Linked DNA regions of Homo sapiens: region 1 is linked to region 2. Evidence: promoter capture Hi-C in 16 types of primary human blood cells and fetal thymus (Javierre and others, 2016). All regions are on one chromosome and are shown on one strand. The core of a region is centred on a gene start or on the middle of the fragment in contact, and the rest is flanking DNA. Distances in the headings are between cores, read along the strand shown. Region 1 overlaps PPP2R5E (protein phosphatase 2 regulatory subunit B'epsilon). Region 2 holds the start of PRKCH-AS2 (PRKCH antisense RNA 2).

The links. Contacts are between HindIII fragments. The CHiCAGO score rates a contact against its expected background, and 5 or more counts as called.
Region 1: a contact is called between a fragment that was not itself captured here and the fragment with the promoter of PRKCH-AS2 in region 2, in 1 of 17 cell types (neutrophils). The highest score is 5.2, in neutrophils.

The regions. Positions count from the first base shown.
Region 1 is chr14:63,537,986-63,543,023 of GRCh38, forward strand. It overlaps PPP2R5E (protein phosphatase 2 regulatory subunit B'epsilon), which reads right to left. Exons shown (of 14, transcript NM_006246.5): 1 at 4,794-5,038; 2 at 1,544-1,707. The coding sequence starts at 1,700. LOC112268140 (loricrin-like) reads left to right here and starts at 4,799. Exons shown (of 1, transcript NR_158218.1): 1 at 4,799-5,038. RefSeq lists a silencer at 4,888-5,027. The HindIII fragment of the contact is 3,873 bases long and covers 1-3,508 here.
Region 2 is chr14:61,543,995-61,548,997 of GRCh38, forward strand. It overlaps PRKCH-AS2 (PRKCH antisense RNA 2), which reads right to left and starts at 1,490. Exons shown (of 3, transcript NR_188139.1): 1 at 1,100-1,490. PRKCH (protein kinase C eta) reads left to right here. Exons shown (of 14, transcript NM_006255.5): 13 at 3,749-3,892. The HindIII fragment of the contact is 1,799 bases long and covers 19-1,817 here.

The DNA of each region.
Region 1 (5,038 bases), core at 322-2,821, 2.0 Mb after region 2:
CCTAATTTAGAAAAAATTCTTCATATTAAAAACGTGTTGGGCCGGGCATGGTGGCTCACGCCTAAATCCTGGCATGGGAACACCATGGCAATTCGAGACCAGCCTGTGCAACATGGCAAAACTCCATCTCTACAAAAAAATGGAAAAATTAGCTGGGCGTGATGGCATGCTTCTGTAGTCCCAGCTACTCGGGAAGTTGATCCCGGCTACTCGGGAAAGGGAGGATCACTTGAGCCTAGGAAATAGAGGCCACAGTGAGCCCCAACCTGCACTTTCTTTTTTTTTTTTCCCCCGAGACAGAGTCTTGCTCTGTCACCCAGGCTAGAATGCAATGGCACGATCTGGGCTCACTTCAACCTCTGCCTCCCGGTTCAAGCAATTCTCCTGCCTCGGCTTCCCGAGTAGCTGGGATTACAGGTGCCACCACCGCGCCTAATTTTTGTATTTTTAGAAGAGACAGGGTTTCACCATGTTGGCCAGGCTGGTCTCAAACTCCTGACCTCGTGATCTGCCTGCCTCGGGCTCCCAAAGTGCTGGGATTACAGGCGTGAGCCACCACGCCCGGCCTCAACCTGCACTTTCACTCTGTCCCCACTGAACTCTAGCCAGAGTGACAGCATGAGATTGTCTCAAAAGAAAATTTAAAAAACCAAAAAACTTGTTTTTAACAAATTTCAGGCCAGGCACGGTGGCTCACACCTGTAATCCCAGCACTTTGGGAGGTCAAGGTGGGCAGATCACTTGGGGTCAGGAGTTCAAGACCAGCCTGACCAACATGGTGAAACCCTGTCTCTATTAAAAATACAAAAATTAGCTGGGCATGGTGGCGGGCACCTGTGCTCCCAGCTACTCGGGAAGCTGAGGCAGGAAAATCACTTGAACCCAGGAGGTGGAGGTTGCTGTGAACCAGCCTGAGCAACAGAGGGAGACTCTATCTCAAAAGATAAAAATTAAAATTAAAAAATTAACAAATTTCAAAGAAAAGATCATACTAAACAAGTATGATCATCATACTTGTACATAGAAAGGTATATCTTTTCTACTTGTACTATGTGAAAACAAGAGTGCATGTAAACAACTATAAATGGACCATTTTTTTCTTGATTTTTAAAAACGAATTCTTCCAAATACCATTTTCTATATGTAAATTAATGAATGGTACCATCTCCTCTACTAGGGTCTACTTCCTAAGACCATAATCTGTAGTTGTCATTGTATATAATGTATCCCTAAACGTCAACAGAAGAAAAAATGAAAAACACAAACCCAGACATCTTAAAGTTTCTCTAGTACTTAGTTTACCTACTCATCAATGTGAGATATTCTCCTGATAATGTTTCTTTTAACTTGCCCAAAGACAGACTAAATTGAGCCTTTAAAAAGGAGAGTGGGTATATTTGGTCACACATTAGTAACTTCAATGTATGTGAAGTATCCCATCCCTTCAATTTGCAACACATATAAAACTCTACAAAAAGGAAATTATATATAGATGTAGAAAGATCAATTGAAAAAGAATGCATCACCTGGTCATGAGCCTTACCTTTTAGCAGCGGCAGAGGTGTTAACTCAATAGGCTTGCCTTGAGACCTAAACTGTGAGGAACTTTGCGACCTCTTCTGTCTGGCTTTTCTGACGGACTTCCGAGAAAATCCGTCTACTTTATCCACTGATGGAGGAGTAGTTGGTGCTGAGGACATATCCCTACTGAAGAGAAAGAAGTATCATAAACCCATACATTCCCAAGGTGGAAGCATACATGTGAGTTATACAAATTCTAAAATTCCCATATACAATATTCATGAAAATGGGAATATGTGCTAAAGAAAATAAAATCAGTTAAGAAAAGTCTTATCTTGGCCAGGTGCAATGGCTCACGCCTGTAATCCCAGCACTTTGGGAGGCTGAGATGGGTGGATCACTTGAGGTCAGGAGTTCAAGACCAACCTGGACAACATGGTGAAATTCAGTCTCTACAAAATTACAAAAATTAGCCGGGCATGATGGCAGGTGCTTGTAATCTCAGCTACCCGGGAGGCTGAGGTGAAAGAATCGCTTGAACCTGGGAGGTGGAGGTTGCAGTGGGCCAGGATCCCGCCATTGCACTCCATCCAGCCTGAGTGACAGAGTGAGATTCCGTCCTTTAAAAAAAAAAAAAAAAAGGGCTGGGCCCGGTGGCTCACACCTGTAATCCCAGCACTTTGGGAGGCCGAGGTGGGTGGATCACTTGAGGTCAGGAGTTCGAGACTAGCCTGGCCAACATGGTGAAACCCTGTGTCTACTAAAAATACAAAAATTAGCCAGGCGCAGTGGCATGCACCTGTAATCTCAGCTACTCAAGAGGCTGAGAAGGGAGAACCGCTTGAACCTGGGAGGCGGAGGTTGCGGTGAGCCAAGATGGCACCACTGCACTCCAGCCTGGGCAACAGAGCAAGAGTCCATCTCAAAAAAAAAAAAAAAAAAAGCCAGGCACAGTGGCACACACCCGTAATCCCAAGGCGGGCAGATAACTTCAGGTTGGGAGTTCGAGACCAGCCTGACCAACATGGAGAAACCCCATCTCTAATAAAAAAAAAAAAATACAAAAATTAGCCAGGCATGGTGGCGCATGCCTGTAATCCCAGCTACTCGGGAGGCTGAGGCAGGAGAATCACTTGAACCCGGGAGGCGGAGTTGTGGTGAGCCAAGATCATGCCATTGCACTCCAGCCTGGGCAGCAAGAGGAAAACTCCTTCTCAAAAAAAAAAAAAAGAAACAAACAAAGAAAAGAAAAGTCATATGTTAACAGGAAAACATGAAAATTTAGTGAAAATAATTTAAGTATCACGGAAACAATATGAGAACTCTAATGTATTGTGCCACTCCATTATAAGCATTAAAGATACTCATCTAGGCTTAAAGAAATCTATGCTGCCTGCCCATTTTCTAACTGCAAAGCTCTTCACATCTTCAAGTAATTTTTGGAGCTATTCTGTAACTGGAAAACTTCCATTGATACATTTTCCCAAGATACTTAATATTATGAATGGGTTCTGGAGTTGAAAAACCCTTAGTGTACTTCAAGAATCTATACCAATGTATCACAGCAAGGTGAAATTTACTACTACTGAAACTATCTAGGCATAACTTTTAATGGGATGTGCTATGTTAGCTATGATAAACTATACCACACTGCAAATGAGGACAGGCTAGATTACTTTAAACAAAACACATAAAAGGCATAATTAAAATATTTCAAATAAGTCTTCTTTTTGAATGAAGCCACCTTACGTTATTAACGCTTAATAAAAACTATGAGAAAATCAAGCACCAAAGTTGAACTGAAAACATAAATTCACAGCCTACTGAAACAACCAAGTTGAGTTCCCTTGAGGTTTAGACCTTGAAGTTCATCATCAAATACCAATTTTCATTCCATCAAACTTACGGAACTGAATAGCACTTTTGAATTGTTTAACCCTCTCGAGTTATTAAAATGAAGGCTATTTCCTGAAAGTAACAAGCGTTAAGCTTAATTTCATTCACCAAATTAAACAGATGCCATCATTTCCATGGCACTGAGGCTTCATGCAAGACTAATGGCAGACTCGGATAGAAAGAATGCATATGGGGGAAATGCTGAAATGCAATTACTCACCTGTCATTCCAATAGACAAGACAAGTGGTTTTTAACTTCTAAATAAAACAGTAAGGGAATTTCTTCCTGAACACGTGAGAATAAAAAGTTACCTGGATTACGTGGATTTTGACAATGTAAAAATAACAAAAACATTTTAAAACACATGCACACATATGATGTTGACGTTTGGAATTTGGAAGTCTTCTTTGGTTTTCTTTAAAAAAAAAAAAGTTTTTAAAAATCTACCTAATTTAGCCTTAATATAATGTGATGGATTCAAAATAGAATCACAAACTATGAATGACTATAGATGTTAAGATCACTTTAAAATATCAAAATGACTGCATCAGCCAAAAGCTCCACATCTTATTTGTACGTTGTAAATTTAGGGGCCGATTTTCCATTCGGGTATGTGAATTATTTAGACTTCACTCTAACTCTAACACTACAACATTTCAGTAAATCCTCTTCCTCCATCACTCTTTTCGTCTCTTCTTTATTCCTTATCTCTCATCTCTACAGACGATATATAGGTAGCTTTTAAAAAAATCATTTACCCCTTATGCCCGAGGCCCAGAATAAACGTCAAGGATCGCAACCCTGAAGCACTGCAAAACTGAACGTAAGGTAACAGCGGGTCCGTGCAAAGCCCAGGGAAACAGGTTTCGCCCTGGGCCAGGGCTCCCGAAGCTTTATCATCCTCTAATCAGCAGGCATGGGGCATTTCCATGGCTCAGGATAATCCAAAGGGGGTAAGGGGAAGTAGGGAAAGACAGGGAAGGGGTTTGTCTGTGGGGATGCTTACATACTCCCTTTGCTCCTAACCCACACCCCAAGCCCTGGAGACGATAAGCTGCTAGAGAATCCTCCTCACACCAAACCCCTCTTTATTCCCCGCCCCCGCCAGTGGATAAAGGGGGGCAAGAAAACGCCTCCAATCCCAGAAGGTGGAGAAAAAGGGGGGAGGGGGCAGAGTGAATGAGAGGTATCATCAGAAGCATTTGTAGGTAAATCAGACAAGTGGGACGGGCGCTCCCGCTCCCGCACCCCACCCCACCGCACCCCTCGCCTGCCCGGCCAGGCCTTCCCAAGGCCGGTGCCCCATAGGTTCCCCAGGAGGACCGGGAGGAAGAAGGGAAGCGGGCGAGCCGCGGTGCTGGAGGGACTAAGTTACCTTGAAGCTTCTGGGGAAGAATCCAAAGATGATCTGTGGCTTGGAGGGGCGGGAGACGGGCGAGGTGGCCGCAGCGGGGGCGGGCGGCGGGACCGGGACGTGCAGGGGGAGGTCCGGGCAGCTGCGGGGAGCCTGGGGCGACGGCTGTCCGGTACGGGGTCCCTCCGGTTCCGCGGCGGCGGAGCCTCTAGGCCTCACGGCCGGACCCGAACCTCAGCGTTCCGGTGGCGGCGGCGGCCTCACGA
Region 2 (5,003 bases), core at 240-2,739:
CACCACCACAACACACAAAGCTTCTACCCCCTTAGTATCACCCCGGACCCTCCTTCTCCCGGTCCTGGTTTCTGTTTCATGGTATTCATCCTCCTCTGGCCTCTTCATGGCATCCTCCAGCTGCCACTCTGGCTGCTTCTCACCCTACACCAGGGGTCAGGAGCCATGAAAGTCCGTGAGTGATACCAGCCAGGTGGGAGGTGATAGGGAGTGGTGGGGCATGTGACTGACTGGGCATCTGGTGCCCCATGAAAAGCAGAAGCCCCTGCTCAACTCCAGGCCGTTTCTATGAGAGGAGTGCAGGCCCAGTGTTCCCGAGTATCTCATTTTCCACGAGAAGTTGGAAAACCTGACTTTTCATGTGATGTGACATTTCCTAGCGTTTAAATATTTGAGAAGTAATTAAAATTATTTCAAAACACACTAGGTAGGCCAAATAAAATGTGTCTGAGACCTAGGGCTGGTATCAGTTCTAGTCTGTCTCTGTCACTTTCCACAATCTAACCTGCCCTCCCAGCTTCAGTGGTTACTCAAATTTCAATGTCTCTGAGCGTTAGATGGCCAGCCCTGGCCTGCACCCCAGATTTACCCTAGAATTCATCTGCATGTGGGTGCCCACACACCTCCAATGCAAAGCGGAGCCCATCAGCCTCCCAGATTTGGCAGACTGTAGGATCTCAGTAAGTGTGAGCTATTTTTGTCTTTGTTCCACTAACAAAAATACTACTACTACTAACACTGCTACTAATACTCATGCTACAAAGAATAATCTCTTGCCCCTCTTTTGTTCCATTTCTGTTACTCAACACCACTGCCCCATCAGGCAGCCAGGGAGGACCCTGTGATCTTGGACTCTTCACTCCCATTCCCGGCAGTTAGTGGATTGTGTTTATTCTTCCACGGCCCTCTAGAATGTGCTTCCAACTCTTCCTTCCAATTAACTAGAAACTCTCCTAGTTGCTGAACTTGTCATGTGTTCTCAGCTATTGTCTCAGCCTCTAACTGCTCACCACCAGGCGCTACCTCTGCATTTAAGATTTATTCATCACGCTGTGGCTAGTGTCATCCCCTAAATTGCCGTGCAGCTCTCATCACTCACCTCGGATGGATCCCACCGGCTGCCCCCGCAGTTCCTCAGCCATCCCTGCATGCCAGCTGTACCAGGCACTTGTATGCCTCTGCATTTGTGCTGGCTGTGTCCTCAGGCGCATTTTCTTCCTTCATGCCTACTATGTTAATTCTGTTCGTCCTCATCTCTGGTCAAATGCCACCTCTTCCACGAGGCTGTCACTTGCCTTCCCACCACCAGCCCCAGTGTTATTTGCCCCGTGCCTCTTCCAAGCTCTCACAGCACTTGATCTAAGTCTCTTTTCATTTCATCCGGCTGTGTATTATGAAGTTTGCTTGATTCTTCCCCCTTCTCTTGATTAGCTCCTGGATGAAGAGACACTGTCTTTGTCATCTGCGTATCCCCAAGAAACCCCTAGTGTGCTGCCTTACATGTAGTAGACACCTTGAAAACCTTTGTCAATTGAATCAAAGTTTGTTTGTGTGTGTGTGTGTTTTGTTTTTTCTTTTGGTTTGTTTTTTTTGTAAGTTGAGGATGGCTGCATCTAAAGGGCTCAGGCCAAGGTATTAAAAACAAAACTGCTTGGTTATTCAAAAGGATTTATCAGAACCCCAAGAGGCTAAGTATCAAGCTAGTGAAAGGGTTATTCTGCCTGTCCCCAATTCCAAGGGTGCAGTTTTTAGAGGACGGACGGTCGTGTTTGGTCTACTTGTCGTCAGGCAAGGCCTCTTCCACAGTGCCCCATGGAAGCTTGGGTTCAGTGCCAGGGGCAGGGAGGAATGGGCAAGCCTCTTGGACACTGGGGCTTCAGCCACCCTGGCATATAGAGTCCTGCACTGTTTGTCTTGCCCAGAAGAACAGGCTGTACCCACCCATTCACAAGATGTCCTCTCTCACATCATTGGCAGGCCTGGGAATTTCCCACAGGCCATCTGGGTGTGTTCTGCCGTCCTGTCTCCCAAGTTTTTTGCAGCATTGTTTCTTGTTAATTAGCTCTTAGAATAGCAACTGCTCTTCCATCAGGAATTGTATCCCGTTGACTTTCCTAAGGCAAGAATCTACTCATTTCTTTTTTGTAAGCATTTTCTCCCTTCCTGCCTGCATTGCACAGGCTTACTTAGTGAGAGCCCAAGCAGTGTGAACTAACTCCTAGCTCTTACAGAACTGAGTTACTTATAATATGCATCTCCTGAATCCTGGGTGACCACTGTAAGTGCCTGAAGTGGCAGCTGCTCTGACTGGGCCTGTGCAGCTCTGAATGCTGCATTTACTTTTGGGTCCTGCCTCCAACCCAGAACCACCTGTGGCCTTTAATTCCTGTTACTAGGAGAGAGGAGAAGCGATTAAACCCTGTCAGTATATTCATTTATTAGCTGCCCTTTGAAGCTTTTTTGAAAGCATTTTACAAGGTATATCCCGTCAGGTTGCTTAGGAACTTTTGCAGCCTCCTTCTTCAACATTATCATTTTCATTTGAATCAACACTGGCAGCTTGACACCTCTGGACACCTGGCATGGCAGTGGGAGGTACCTCCAAACACTGTCTTTCCGTGTCTGCACCTTCAACAAGATTTTCTCTGTAAATTCAGCTCCAAAACAATTTTTATAAACACAGCATTACTTTTGTGTTGTTCACAAATCAGATTTGGAAAGAGGTGCTTGGGGACTGTCATGAGTCTATTTAAAGATAACCTGATTTAAATAAAAACAAAAACAAAACTTTTTATCCAAGGCAATTTTCTTTCAATATGGGAAATTAAATTAGCTTCAGTGTCTTTGAAATTGAGAACCACACTCCGGCCATGAAAAGTGAATTATCCTGTACTAATCCTTGCTCAGGAAGTGATCAAAACACCTTTCCTGGCTATTTTGTGAAAGCAGATTTAGCCCAGCATATTTTGATAGGAGCCCAGCACTAAGGAAGTTTCCCAACTGATGGAAATACAGAGAATCTCTATGCACACATCGCTTAGCTGTGTGGCAGCGCTCGTTTTAGTTTTTGGTCTATGGAGCAATGGAATCTCAGTCATTGAACCTACTTCGAAACAGCAGTGGTGGGGGGAACATCTTGAAGAAAAGCCTTTCATCTAGAGCTATGATATCTTCGCTGCATAAAGAAAAGTGGCCAACTTTGTTTTTTCTAGAGCCAGGACACAGACCTTTTCAGTATGTCACCTTTGCTGCTTCTTCACACAGATCTTCAAAAATAACGACTCTCTCTCCTCTCTGTGGTCTCGTCAGAGAGCAGGAATCCTGGCCAGCTGGTCAGGTCACTCAGAAAAATGGCACAGCTGTTTCTGAAAGTAGCCCCATTCATAAGATGTCTGCTGCCCACAACTGCAGTGTTGGGGAAAGGCACACTGTTATAAAGAGCTTCTTTTCTTTAAAGAGGAAAGAAAAATACATGGTGTTTACAGAAAAGAAAACTGGACCCTCCTGCTTTCTTTTAGTGGCCATGTCTGAAATGGAAGTGGGAAAAGCCATAAATCCACACAGGCAATCGCGCCTTTAAGGCATGATTCATACTGACTGTGCTGCCTGTGATGGAAAACCCAGCTAGTTAAGCAAGACCTGCCAGAAAGTCTCGCACAGCTCCTCTGCCATGGCTGATGCCTGCTGTCTTGTGACGTGCTGGTTGTATGTGAATGAATGATTGACACTTTCTCTCTCTCTCACTCAGTTCATGACCAAGAACCCCACCATGCGCTTGGGCAGCCTGACTCAGGGAGGCGAGCACGCCATCTTGAGACATCCTTTTTTTAAGGAAATCGACTGGGCCCAGCTGAACCATCGCCAAATAGAACCGCCTTTCAGACCCAGAATCGTAAGTGTCCCAGGCTGTCACAGAGACATTCCTTTCTTCAGATGTCACAGCATTCCACCAAAGTCCGTAGAAGAGCTGGATGGCCCCTGTGGGTGACAGACCAGAAATTCAGCTGGATACTGCACAGGGCAGCCTCCCCTGGGGGGAATCTGGGCTCCTTGTCCATGGGACAACAATGTCTTCATGTGCCCACATTAATTCTTACCAAGTTTCACCCCTCGTTTACCCAATCTCCAACTTCTCTCAACCTAAATTAAAATCTTGTAGGGTATAAGAGGCCTGAAACTTTCCAGGTTTCCCCAAAAGAGTTTGGCTAATTGAGAAAGTCATTGTTCTGGCCAATTTCCTCATGCTCCTTGGGGCACTTTTTGTGCCTTTTCTAAGCCCCTGAGAAAGCAGAGTGGGTAGGAGATGTTGCTCACTTCACTGAGCCTGGCCTCTTGGCTTGGAGAGCCTGGGTCTGTAATAGCTGCTGCAGTGCAGAGCCCAGGCCAGGCCAGGCTTCTTTGACCAAAGAAATACTGGGATCTCCAGGGGCTCCTCTCCAAGCTCTGCAGCTGAGGCTGGTGGCCTTCCTGAGCGTGGTCCCGCTTGTGGTCTGAGAGCTGAGCTCGTGCTCATCTGTGGGTCAAGAGCTCCACAGGAGGAAGGCAGAGAAGCAAGGCTAGCGATAGATCAAGAGTGATGGGGAGACCTGGCGTGGTGGCTCATGCCTATAATCCCAGCACTTTGGGAGGCCGAGGCAGATGGATCACTTGAGGTCAGGAGTTTGAGACTAGCCTGGCCAACATGGCAAAACCCCATCTCTACTAAAAATACAAAAAAAAAAAGCCTGGTGTGGTGATGCACACCTCTAATCCCTGCTACTCAGGAGGCTGAAGTAGAAGGATTGCTTGAACCTAGGAGGTGGAGATTGCAGTGAGCCGAGATTGCGTCATGCGCTCCAGCCTGGGCAACTGAGTTAGACTTTGTCTCAAAAAAAAAAAAAAAAAAGTGATAGAGAAATATCATTGATTAAGGTAAGAGCAGTGAGATGTGTGATACTCACTTAGAAATGATCTTTGCAGCGTTTGTTTATACAGATATAAAATACTCAACTTTTAAAAACATA